4 separate regions of the Homo sapiens genome follow, and all the other regions are linked to region 4. The links are contacts of gene promoters, found by promoter capture Hi-C in blood cells and fetal thymus (Javierre and others, 2016). All regions are on one chromosome and are shown on one strand. Each heading gives the region's core, a stretch centred on a gene start or on the middle of the fragment in contact. The rest is flanking DNA. Distances are from core to core; before and after follow the strand shown.

The links. The method cuts DNA at HindIII sites, captures the fragments that hold promoters and counts their contacts. A CHiCAGO score of 5 or more calls a contact.
Region 1: a contact is called between a fragment that was not itself captured here and the fragment with the promoter of ALOX15B in region 4, in 7 of 17 cell types (endothelial precursors, M2 macrophages, naive B cells and 4 more). The highest score is 8.8, in endothelial precursors.
Region 2: a contact is called between a fragment that was not itself captured here and the fragment with the promoter of ALOX15B in region 4, in 1 of 17 cell types (M0 macrophages). The highest score is 5.1, in M0 macrophages.
Region 3: a contact is called between a fragment that was not itself captured here and the fragment with the promoter of ALOX15B in region 4, in 7 of 17 cell types (megakaryocytes, M0 macrophages, M1 macrophages and 4 more). The highest score is 8.0, in megakaryocytes.

Annotation. Positions count from the first base shown.
Region 1 is chr17:7,863,584-7,866,283 of GRCh38, forward strand. It overlaps a transcript of NAA38 not described here. Among named protein-coding and RNA genes, the nearest start is that of CYB5D1, 6.9 kb to the left of the region's middle. The HindIII fragment of the contact is 3,079 bases long and covers 1-2,700 here.
Region 2 is chr17:7,836,416-7,839,115 of GRCh38, forward strand. All of the region lies in intron 1 of KDM6B (lysine demethylase 6B), which reads left to right. LOC124904106 (translation initiation factor IF-2) reads right to left here. Exons shown (of 4, transcript XM_047437265.1): 4 at 1-229. Among named protein-coding and RNA genes, the nearest start is that of KDM6B, 3.5 kb to the left of the region's middle. RefSeq lists an enhancer at 304-353 and a silencer at 1,224-1,373. The HindIII fragment of the contact is 2,138 bases long and covers 382-2,519 here.
Region 3 is chr17:7,900,200-7,902,899 of GRCh38, forward strand. CHD3 (chromodomain helicase DNA binding protein 3) reads left to right here. Exons shown (of 40, transcript NM_001005273.3): 17 at 91-212; 18 at 359-532; 19 at 653-794; 20 at 1,045-1,176; 21 at 2,411-2,528. Among named protein-coding and RNA genes, the nearest start is that of CHD3, 13 kb to the left of the region's middle. RefSeq lists an enhancer at 2,492-2,700. The HindIII fragment of the contact is 4,232 bases long and covers 1-2,700 here.
Region 4 is chr17:8,037,765-8,040,464 of GRCh38, forward strand. ALOX15B (arachidonate 15-lipoxygenase type B) reads left to right here and starts at 1,295. Exons shown (of 14, transcript NM_001141.3): 1 at 1,295-1,538; 2 at 1,622-1,841; 3 at 2,138-2,219. The coding sequence starts at 1,392. The HindIII fragment of the contact is 10,323 bases long and covers 91-2,700 here.

The DNA of each region.
Region 1 (2,700 bases), core at 201-2,700, 170 kb before region 4:
AGTTTCTACCCTTACAGCAAGTCACAGGTGGATTACTAACCTGGCCATCCTGAAACTGTTTCTAAATACTCTGTGTGTGTGTGTCTGTGGATGTGTATTATTTTTGGAAAATGGTGCTATAATTTCCATCAGATTCTCCAAATAGCCCAACCCCCTACTCCTACTCCTGAAATAGCACGCACACACACACATACACAACAATACTTTAAACAGCCTCAAAAGTAAAATATCAAAAGTTATAATACAATGTGGTCCCAATATTCTGGCATCTGTCTCAATGGTCTGCCTCAGCCTGTGGCAGAACCATGGCAACCCATGGCAGAAATTCCTAAAGCTCTAACCTTTGGGGCTAAATTTATGACGAGTCTCAAGTGTTTTACTACTGTACCAAATGTTAATCTGGCTGTACCTTGGAGCTGAGTAAAGGGATCCATCATTTGGTCTTGATACTATAACATCCAATCATACATCACGATAAGGTTAATGCATCCAGCACCACAGCTAAGTTTAGGGAGGCCACATGGATGGGCTGCTGTTGGGAGAACAGCCACTTGATCATGGGTCAGTAGAGTACACGGTTTGGCTGTAAGAATGCACACAGAATTAGAAACCTGACTGATCTTTATCCTGGAAGCCAAAGATTAAGGATTCAAAAATACAAATGGATATGCACCCCAAGTACTAGGTATTCTAGGCACACCGGAAGCACTAAAAAGAAAAACCCAAAAAGCTGGTGAATGAATAAGTGAAGTGAATCCATCAAAGTGGGAATGGGAGTAAAGGCTTAAGTGCAGTGGTGTGATCATAGCTCACTGTAACCTCAAACTCCCGAGCTCAGACAATGCTCCTGCCTCAGAGTAGCACCACCATACCTGGCTAATTCTTTATTTTTTTGTAGAGACAGGGTCTTCCTATGTTGCCCAAGCCGGTCTCAAACTCCTCGCCTCAAGCAATCCTCCTGCCTAGGCCTCCCAAAGTGTTGGGATTATAAGTATGAGTCACCGTGCCTGGCCAATATTTTAAATAATTGTGTGCCTGGACTGGGTGTGGCAGCTCACGCCTGTAATCCCAGCACTTTGGGAGGCAGAAGGATCACTTGAGGCCAGGAGTTCAAGATAAGCCTGGCCAACACAGTGAAACCCTGTCTTTACTAAAAATACAAAAATTAGCCAGGTGTGGTGGCAAGTGCCTATAATCTCAGCTACTCGGGAGGCTGAGGCAAAATGGCTTCAAACCAGGAGGCGGAGGCTGCAGTGAGCCAAGATCACGCCACTGCACTCCAGCCTGGGCAACAGAGTGAGACTCCATCTCAAAAAAAAAAAAAAAAATTATGTGCATGAAGCAAAGTTTGTGTTAGGTACTTGTGTGTAGAATTTTCTACTTGTGGTATCATGTAGGCATGTAAAAGTTTCCGATTTAGGAGCATTTTGGGTGTTTGATTAGGGATGCTCAACCTGTACATACACATACCTATATATAAACATATTATGAATAGAGTGAAAGTACTATAAAGACACACAGAATCACGAGAGCGATGGCTGAATGATCAGAGGCATGTCTGAGGAGATGCTCACATGACTCATCTGTATTACCTGTAGAGCTGCATTTACCAACATTAATCCTCCCAACAAACTTAAGGCATAGGTACGATTTTTATTTATACTGAAAAACAACACTGAAGCAGAGAGAGATTAAGTAACTTGCCAAAAGTCATACAACTAATGAGTACCAAGGTAGTCATAGCCCATCCAACTAACATACCGCCTCCCTGCATGTCAAACATAGGATGCTATTCTAGTTACCTACCACTGCTGTATTTTGCCAATGAATCTGCAATATGGGTAGGGCTCAGCAGGGACAGCTCACTTCTACTCCCAAAGGGGTGGACTGTGGGGAGCTGGAGGATCCACTTTCAAGATGGCTGTCTCACATAGCTCTCAATGCTATCAGTTTTTCTCCACATGGGCCTCTACACAGGGCAGTTTGGGCTTCCTCACAGCATCCCAAGAGAACCAAGAGGAAGCTGAATCATATGACCTAGCCTCAATTCCAAGGGAAGGGAACTAGCTCCCACCTCTCACCGGGAAGAGTCTCGGAATTACACTGTAAGAAGAACATGTGGGATGTGAGACATAATTGTGGGCATATTTAGAAAATACAATCCACCAGAGATGCACTGGAGGTAAAAGGGGGGTATCCAGCCCAGTCTAGGGTGGAGTGGAGGGGTGGTCTTTGAAGGGTTGTGTGTAGGGGAGACAGGGCATTGATACTTGAGCCTTTCTTGAAAGCCTAGGTTGGAATCTTGGCCCTATCATTTATTCAATTCATTAAAATGATACTGAGCATCTGTCAGGCACAGTCCTGGAAACTGTGAATACAAAAATTAATGACACAGTTCCTGCCCTCTAGGAGCTTACAGTTTAATGGGAGACTCACGGAAGTTTGTGATTCTCTTAATTTGTCATCCTGCTTCCTTATTTACACAGTAGCCATGGGGAACTTTTTTTTTTTTTTTTTTTTTGAGACGGAGTCTCGCTCTGTTGCCCAGGCTGGAGTGCAGCGGCACGATCTCGGCTCACTGCAAGCTCCGCCTCCCGGGTTCACGCCATTCTCCTGCCTCAGCCTCCCGAGTAGCTGGGACTACAGATGCCCGCCACCAAGCCCGGCTAATTTTTTTTTTTTTTTTTTTTTTTTTTTGGT
Region 2 (2,700 bases), core at 201-2,700, 200 kb before region 4:
AACAGCGCGGGGAGGGGCGGGAGAGTTGGGGACCCAGACAGATTCCGGCTGGCGGCCGGCTGGGGCACGGGGGATCCTGCAGATGGAAGACGGAGCCCCGCGGGACCCGGTGCCCCCGTCCCCGCCTGCCGGCCCCCACCGAGATCTCGCCCAGGAGAGAGAAGGCACAGTATCTCCGAGGGGCGTGTCGGGCCGACTCCCGTCAGAAATGTGGGTTGGGAGGTCAGGGCTGCAGGCGGAGAGGAGGAGACAGGCAAGAGGCCTGAGTCCCTGGGATTGGAGTCGTATTAGGGGTAAAAGAGATAAGGACGCCTGGGTTTCTTCTTATGTCTCCTTTTTGGGTTCCCAGAATTCCTAAGGGTGTTTCCAGTGTTTCCAGGAAGCTTAGCCAGCACACCCACTCCGCCCCGTAGGGGTCAAAGGTCTGTGTTAGAGGTGGCCTGGGATGATGTCACTAGTGCACGTGCCCCGGGATGGTTGCCAGGCAATGAGGCTTCCTCCCCCTTCTATTCCCTCCCACCTCTGCCCCGAGTCCAGTTCCAGTCCCGTGCCATCTCTTTCCCCTCTCCCTTCCCGTGGTCTTAGCATCCTGCAGGTGGGAAACCCCGGCCTGGAGTTTTGTGAGGGGGAGGGGCACGGGTGTGGTGTGGCTGAAAGACTTTGCCCCTTTGCTGGGCTGAGGGAGCCTTGGGTCACTTTTCCCTAGATTGGCACAGAAGAGCTTCCCCTCCAAGGCTCCGCCCCCATAGAAAAAGCTACCTAGCCGTCATTTTACTTTCCCACCTGCTGCATGGCCAAGTGTCCTATTGCCCCCTTCCCCAGATTGATTTGAAGTGGGAGTGGTTGAAAGACGGAAGAGTTGTGTGTAGTATGGGGGGGGGTTCACTACACACCAGCTTATCCCTGAAATCCCCATAATGGCACACCCCCATCTGCAAACAATGAAAGGAAAAGGGTCAAGAAACAGTATTAGGCTGAAAAGTCAGGGTCTTTATTGTGTGTATGCGGGTGAATCGGTTTGTAGCCTCTCACTTGGTGGAGGGGGACTCAGTTGATTGCTATGGTTGTTCTTCTCTATTAAGTCCCAGGGTTGGTGATGGTATTGGAATGAATCGGTTTGTGCTTTTATGTACCTTAGAGCTTGGGCTGTCAGATCAGACCTGGATTCTAATTCTAGCTCTGTCACTTAGTGGCTACTAGGACTTGGAGAGGTCAGAACCTCTCTGAGCCTCGTATGTTAATCTTGAACATTTAAATATCAACACCTACCTTGAAGGCCGCTGGGAGGAAAAAAATGAGATAATTTATGCAAATCACTTAGCACAGTGCCTGGCACAGAATGAACACAGAATGAGTGCTTGTTGTTATGAAATACTTTTATTATTAAATGGTGTTAGTTACTAGTTTATTATTATTGCTGTGGGTCTGCTCCAAACCAGCGGTAACCGTAGGAGTTTGTTAAGGGGTAGTGGATAGTTTGTGTTAATTTGGAGATTGGGGTTAGGGGGCTGGGGATTAGCTTCAACTGCTTTGTGCATTTTATTTGATGAAGGCTTTAGGCAGATTTGTATTGCTTTCTTTAGGATTATTTTTTTTTCTCTTGGACAAGAAATAGCTAAGACTATTCCGTGGGCCTTGAAAATAAAATAATTGTATTATGGTTCTTGATTTTGAAGCAAGACCCCAGCCCCCTCCCGTGTTGATCTCTGGAGCCTTTCGTTTTGCAGAGGGACTCCACAGTTTCTCTAGTGGGGACAGGGCTAGGCTGAGGGGTGTGTAAAAGGTTGGGGTGGGTGGGTGGAGAGAGACTAGTGCTGGGGGCTGGGGGGGCGGGTAGTTAAAGGAAGAGACCGGAAGGGAGGAGGAGGGAGCCTGCTGGTGGGGAGGGAGGGAGGGGAGGAGGAGGTGGAGGAGGAGGAGGAGGAGGAGGGAGGGGGTTGGGGAGAGCCTGCTACAGTTCTTTGTTTGACTCCGGGACTCAGGGACGGGGAGGAGGAGGGAGGGAATAGAAGGGGGAGGAAGCCCCCCCCCCCACACACACACAAACACACACACCCCAGCTGTTGGACAGATGAATTACAGCCTCCGGCTTGGGGCCAGGGCTGGTGAGGGATTAAAGCTCTGGGGCTGGCCCTTTAAATGGCTGTTAGCCCCTCCCCCACTCTGTTGTCCAGACACCCCTCACACACCCTCTGACCCCCTAGGCTTCCCCCTCACTCCTCCTCTTGGTCTGTCCTAAAGTCTGCCCACTCTGCTCTCGACTAGCCCTTTCCTAGTCCCTCCCCCCAGCACAACCGCAGAACACAGATGCCACAGACTATAGATACACACTCTCTGCTCCCAGGTTATGAGCCTCCCTGTCCTGGAGAGTTCTAGCCTGAAGCTCCCTTCCCGAGCAGAAGGGCCTTGCCTGCCTGACCTCTACCACCTACAGCTGACCACTACCCTGGCTTAGGAAGGAGGCCTTGGTGGGTCACAAATAGCACCTCCCTGGGGGCAGTGTCATCAGCAGCCACAGAAGCTTGCGGAACATTGCATCATGGAGACTGGGGGCTAGAGGCCTGAGTCTCTGAGGCAAGGGGAAGGATGGGGGCCGGAAGGCTAGGGAATATAGAGATTAGATTGGGACCCCAAGTGTTTGGGTCCATAAGGGCAGAGAACTATGATTAAGGGAGCAGAAAACATAGGTCCCTGAGGAGC
Region 3 (2,700 bases), core at 195-2,694, 140 kb before region 4:
GGAGCTGGGGCAGGGAAAGGCTGATGCTGTGGGTCGGTCACTTGTCACTAATAAGCCCATTTTCCTGCCTTGCCTTGCCCCATCTTTTAGTTTTTCAGGGTTCTCAATGGTTACAAGATAGATCATAAGTTGCTGCTGACAGGAACCCCATTGCAGAATAATCTGGAGGAGCTCTTCCATCTCCTGAACTTCCTCACCCCAGAGAGATTTAAGTAAGTGGTTCCCTAAGGGTAGTTGGCAGAGATGAGAGGTGGAGCAGATAAAATGAGCTGGTAGAGGATTAATCTGAGGTGGTAAGTCTGAGATCAGGGGCAAGGAACTTGCCGACCTGTTAATTTTCTTCTCTTCTGGCTCTTAGCAACTTGGAGGGCTTCCTGGAGGAGTTTGCTGACATATCCAAAGAGGACCAGATCAAGAAACTGCATGATTTGCTGGGGCCACACATGCTGCGGAGACTCAAGGCAGATGTCTTTAAGAACATGCCAGCCAAGACAGAGCTCATCGTTCGGGTGGAGCTAAGCCCCATGCAGAAGTAAGATGCAAGACGAGCTGCCTGGAGTAGGGCTTGGGGATTGATGGGAGCGTTCCAAGTGCAATATCATAATTGCTTCCTTTATTTATGTTTCTTTTACACCCCTTTCCTGGCCTTTAGGAAATACTACAAATACATCCTGACTCGAAATTTTGAGGCCTTGAATTCACGAGGTGGTGGGAACCAGGTGTCGCTGCTTAATATCATGATGGATCTTAAGAAGTGCTGCAACCATCCATACCTTTTTCCCGTGGCTGCTATGGTAGATACACAGAGCAGGGAGCTGATCGAACGCCCATTCTCAGAAAACATGGGTGGGGAGTAGTGGGGAGGTGGGTATTGAGCCACAGGGGTGGAGCTGGGCTGGAAGGCCACGGACTGGGTGTCTGAGAACAGGAGGAATTGGGAACATGTGGAAGCTGGATCCGGGCATCTGGCCTTCTAGGTGTGGCAAGAATATGGGGGCATGTTTCCAACTGACCCCCTCCTCCTCCTCTCTCCTCCCTTTTCAGGAGTCCCCCAAACTCCCCAGTGGGGCTTATGAGGGTGGGGCACTTATTAAGTCGTCTGGGAAGCTCATGCTGCTCCAGAAGATGCTGCGAAAGCTGAAGGAGCAAGGACACCGAGTGCTCATCTTCTCGCAGGTGACCTGTGCCCTTAGCTGTCTTTACATCTGCTTCCTCTTCCCTCTCCTCATCCTCCAGACTTTAATTTCTTACGGTCTTCCTGTGGCTGCTCTGGTGTGACAAATGAGGAGATTCCTCCTGTAAGAGTTTTTTTTTTTTTTTTTTTTTTTGAGACAGAGTTTCGCTCTTATTGCCCAGGCTGGAGTGCAGTGGCACGATCTCGGCTCACTGCAACCTCTGCTTCCTGGGTTCAAGTGATTCTCCTGCCTCAGCCTCCCAAGTAGCTGGGATTACAGGCGTGCACCACCATGCCTAGCTAATTTTTGTATTTTTAGTAGAGACGGGATTTCACCATGTTGGTCAGGATGGTCTCCATCACCTGACCTCAGGTGATCTGCCCGCCTCGGTCTCCCAAAGTGCTGGGATTACTGTATAGCAAGTTCATTCTTGGCCTCTGATGCCTGTTCTTAAGGTTGCTGGAAGTTGAGGTCCAGCTCTAGTTCCTTTTCAGCTGCATGAGGGAAGGGGGAGGGTGAGCCATCTGCCTCCTTAGGGACTGGTATTATTTCTTCATCTTATTGGCAGGTGAGGGTGAAGGGCACAGACCCTTTGGAAATGTGATGAAAGCTCTGGGTCTACTCACCAGAAAACTGCACATACAATGACACAATTTTGTACGGATTTTCAGGGGGTTCCTGGATTTCCCTGAAACCTTTTCATGGGTCTCAGAGAACCTCTGCCTTAGGAGAAACAATCTTAAATCAAGAGAGTGTGACAAGAGGGCCAGACGTGGTGGCTCACACCTGTAATCCCAGCACTTTGGGAGGCCGAGGCAGGAAGATCACTTGAGGTCAGGAGTTTCAAGACCAGCCTGGCCAACATGGTGAAACCCTGTCTCTACTTAAAATACAAAAATTAGCTGGGCGTGGTGGCGCACACCTGTAGTCCCAGCTACTAGGGAGGCTGAGGCGGTAGGATCACTTGAACCCAGGAGTGGAGGTTGCAGTGAGCAGAGATGGCACCACTGCACTCCAGCTAGGGCAACAGAATGAGACTCCATCTCAAAAAAAAATAAAAATAAATAAAAATAAGAAAAGAGAGTGTGACAAGAAGGTGGAATAATGAGGAGCTTAAGACAGGGCAGGGGTTCAGGTGTAAAGATTAGGGTTGAGTTTGTGTAAAGGAGTAGTTAGAATAAGCAAGCATCCCACCACCTCATTATTGCAGACTCCATCCTTTTCTCTTGCTCTAGATGACCAAAATGTTAGACTTGCTTGAGGACTTCTTAGACTATGAAGGCTACAAGTATGAGCGCATCGATGGTGGTATCACGGGTGCCCTGAGGCAGGAGGCCATCGATCGGTTTAATGGTGAGGGAGATACACTGGTCCCTGGTGGGTGTGGGAGGCCTGAGAAACCTGTGATAGGTCCCTGGGATGGGAGGGGGACTGGCTTGGGGGACATTGGAAACTTAGGCTTTGAGTTGGGGGCATGGTTGTTTGTCATCAGAGAACATCTAGGAGCAGGTGGACAGAACTACCG
Region 4 (2,700 bases), core at 45-2,544:
CCAAAGCCCAAATCCATAACTTCCCCTTGGCATCTCTCCCCCAAATCCCTCCCTCACTGCACTCTTGCCTTTCCCTCCTCCAACAAGCCAAGCTTTTCCTAACCACAGGGCCTCTTCAGGAACAGTTTCCTCTGCACAAAACTCTGTTCCCCAGACAGATCCTTTCACCTCCTCTGAGGCTCTGAACGCCTCCCTTCCCACCTCTGCTTCTCACTCCTTCACATTAGTCTGTTTCATTTCCTTCATTGCACTTATTATCATCTGAAATTATGTGTTGGTTTACTTATTTTCTCTCACACTTGATTTTTTTTTTTTAGACCGAGATTTGCTCTGTCGCCCATGCTGGAGTGCAATGGCACAACTTCACCTCACTGAAACCTCCGCCTTCCGGGTTCAAGCTATTCTCCTGCCTCAGCCTCCTGAGTAGCTGGGACTACAGGCGCCCGCCACCACGCTTGGCTAATTTTTTTGTATTTTTAGTAGAGATGGGGTTTCACCATGTTGGCCAGCAACTGTGCCTGGCCTCACACTTGATTTTTAATCTCCATGAGAGCAAGCACTAGGTCTTGCCTGGGCCTTTATCAATAGCAGTGAGCATAGCACCTGGCACAGAGGTAGTTCTGAACATTAATTATTGAATGAAATAAAATAATGAATGTAGGCTGGGCGCGGTGGCTCACGCCTGTAATCCCAGCACTTTGGGAGGCCGAGGCAGGCGGATCATGAGGTCAAGAGATCAAGATCATCCTGGCCTACATGGTGGAACCCCGTCTCTACTAAAATACAAAAATTAGCTGGGCATGGTGGCACTCGCCTGTTGTCTCAGCTACTGGGGAGGCTGAGGTAGGAGAATCACTTGAACCCAGGAGGAGGAGGTTCCAGTGAGCCGAGATCATGCTGCTGCACTCCAGCCTGGCGACAGAGCAAGCCTCTGTCTCAAAAATAAATAAATAAATAAATTTTAAAAATAATGAACGCAGGCCCAAGAAGAGTTGTGGGAAATGGGGTGATATTTTTGCATAGACTTCTAAGGCTAAGAAGGAAAACAAACAGACGTGGTGGGCACAAATCTACCCCCACCCCAACTGGGTCCCAACTCTAGGCTCTCTGGCCTGGCACCACCACTGAAAGGCCCCGTTCCCCAAACCTCAGGGTATTCTTAGTCCCTCCTGTTCCCAGCGCTGCCAATCCCCCGCCCACCCCCACTTTAGTTGCGTGTTCCAGCCTCTCCGCCCCGCCCCTCCCCGCCCTGAAACGGACGTGCTTTTTAGAGGAGTCCACTGGGCTTGGAGTCAGTGGCAATAACCAGGGGCAATAACCAGGCGTGTCCCAGGGGGGAGCCCCGCTCTGCAGCCCTGTGCGCCGTAGAGAGCTGGACTTAGGCTGGCAGCATGGCCGAGTTCAGGGTCAGGGTGTCCACCGGAGAAGCCTTCGGGGCTGGCACATGGGACAAAGTGTCTGTCAGCATCGTGGGGACCCGGGGAGAGAGCCCCCCACTGCCCCTGGACAATCTCGGCAAGGAGTTCACTGCGGGCGCTGTGAGTGCGTGGGAGTGGATGGGGTGGAGGTGAAGGGGGCGAGCAGGAGGGTCCGGCCTGACGCATACTTAACCTCCCCTCAGGAGGAGGACTTCCAGGTGACGCTCCCGGAGGACGTAGGCCGAGTGCTGCTGCTGCGCGTGCACAAGGCGCCCCCAGTGCTGCCCCTGCTGGGGCCCCTGGCCCCGGATGCCTGGTTCTGCCGCTGGTTCCAGCTGACACCGCCGCGGGGCGGCCACCTCCTCTTCCCCTGCTACCAGTGGCTGGAGGGGGCGGGGACCCTGGTGCTGCAGGAGGGTACAGGTGAGGGGCGGGCCGGGCTGGGGCTGCAGGGGGAGCACAGGAAGGGGTAGGGGACTGGGGGTTGGGGAGAAGGGCAGGTGAAATGGAGAGGTGAGCTGGTGTGGCCACAGAGTAGCGGGCAGAGGAGAGGGAATGGCGGAGCCTTGGGGAGCGGGAGGTAGCAGCCTGGTGTAGGAGAAACTGTACTTATGGGAGGAGGGGACCTGGTAGAGGGTGGCAATCGTGGAGACTGTGTGGCTGGTGGTAGTGATGGTGAGTTTCTCTCCCCACCCCAACCTACTCCCCTTCTCCCACAGCCAAGGTGTCCTGGGCAGACCACCACCCTGTGCTCCAGCAACAGCGCCAGGAGGAGCTTCAGGCCCGGCAGGAGATGTACCAGTGAGGAGGGGGTTACTGATGGGGGAGGGTGTGCCCAAACGATGAGGGGCAGCTTGAGTGTCCTGGTCATGACAGAGATTAAAAGCCCCTGCCTCCACCTCTCCTATCAAAGCTGCTCCTGGGATCAGCAGCGTCTACAGGAACGTATTAGAAATGCAAATTCTCAGGCCACCTCCAACCTACTACGACACTGAGGGTGTAGAGTGGGAATTTTTGTTTTGACAAGCCTTCCAGATGACTCTGGTGGCCACTGATGTTTGAAAAACACTGCTCTAGGGCCAGGTGCCGTGGTGGCTCACACCTGTAATCTCAGCACTTTGGGAGGCTGAGGGAGGCGGATCACTGGAGGTCGGGAGTTCGAGACCAGCCTGGCCAACAGGGCGAAACCCCATCTCTACTAAAAATACAAAAATCAGCTGGGTAGGGTGGCGGGCACCTGTATTCTCAGCTACATGGGAGGCTGAGGCAGAAGAATAGCTTG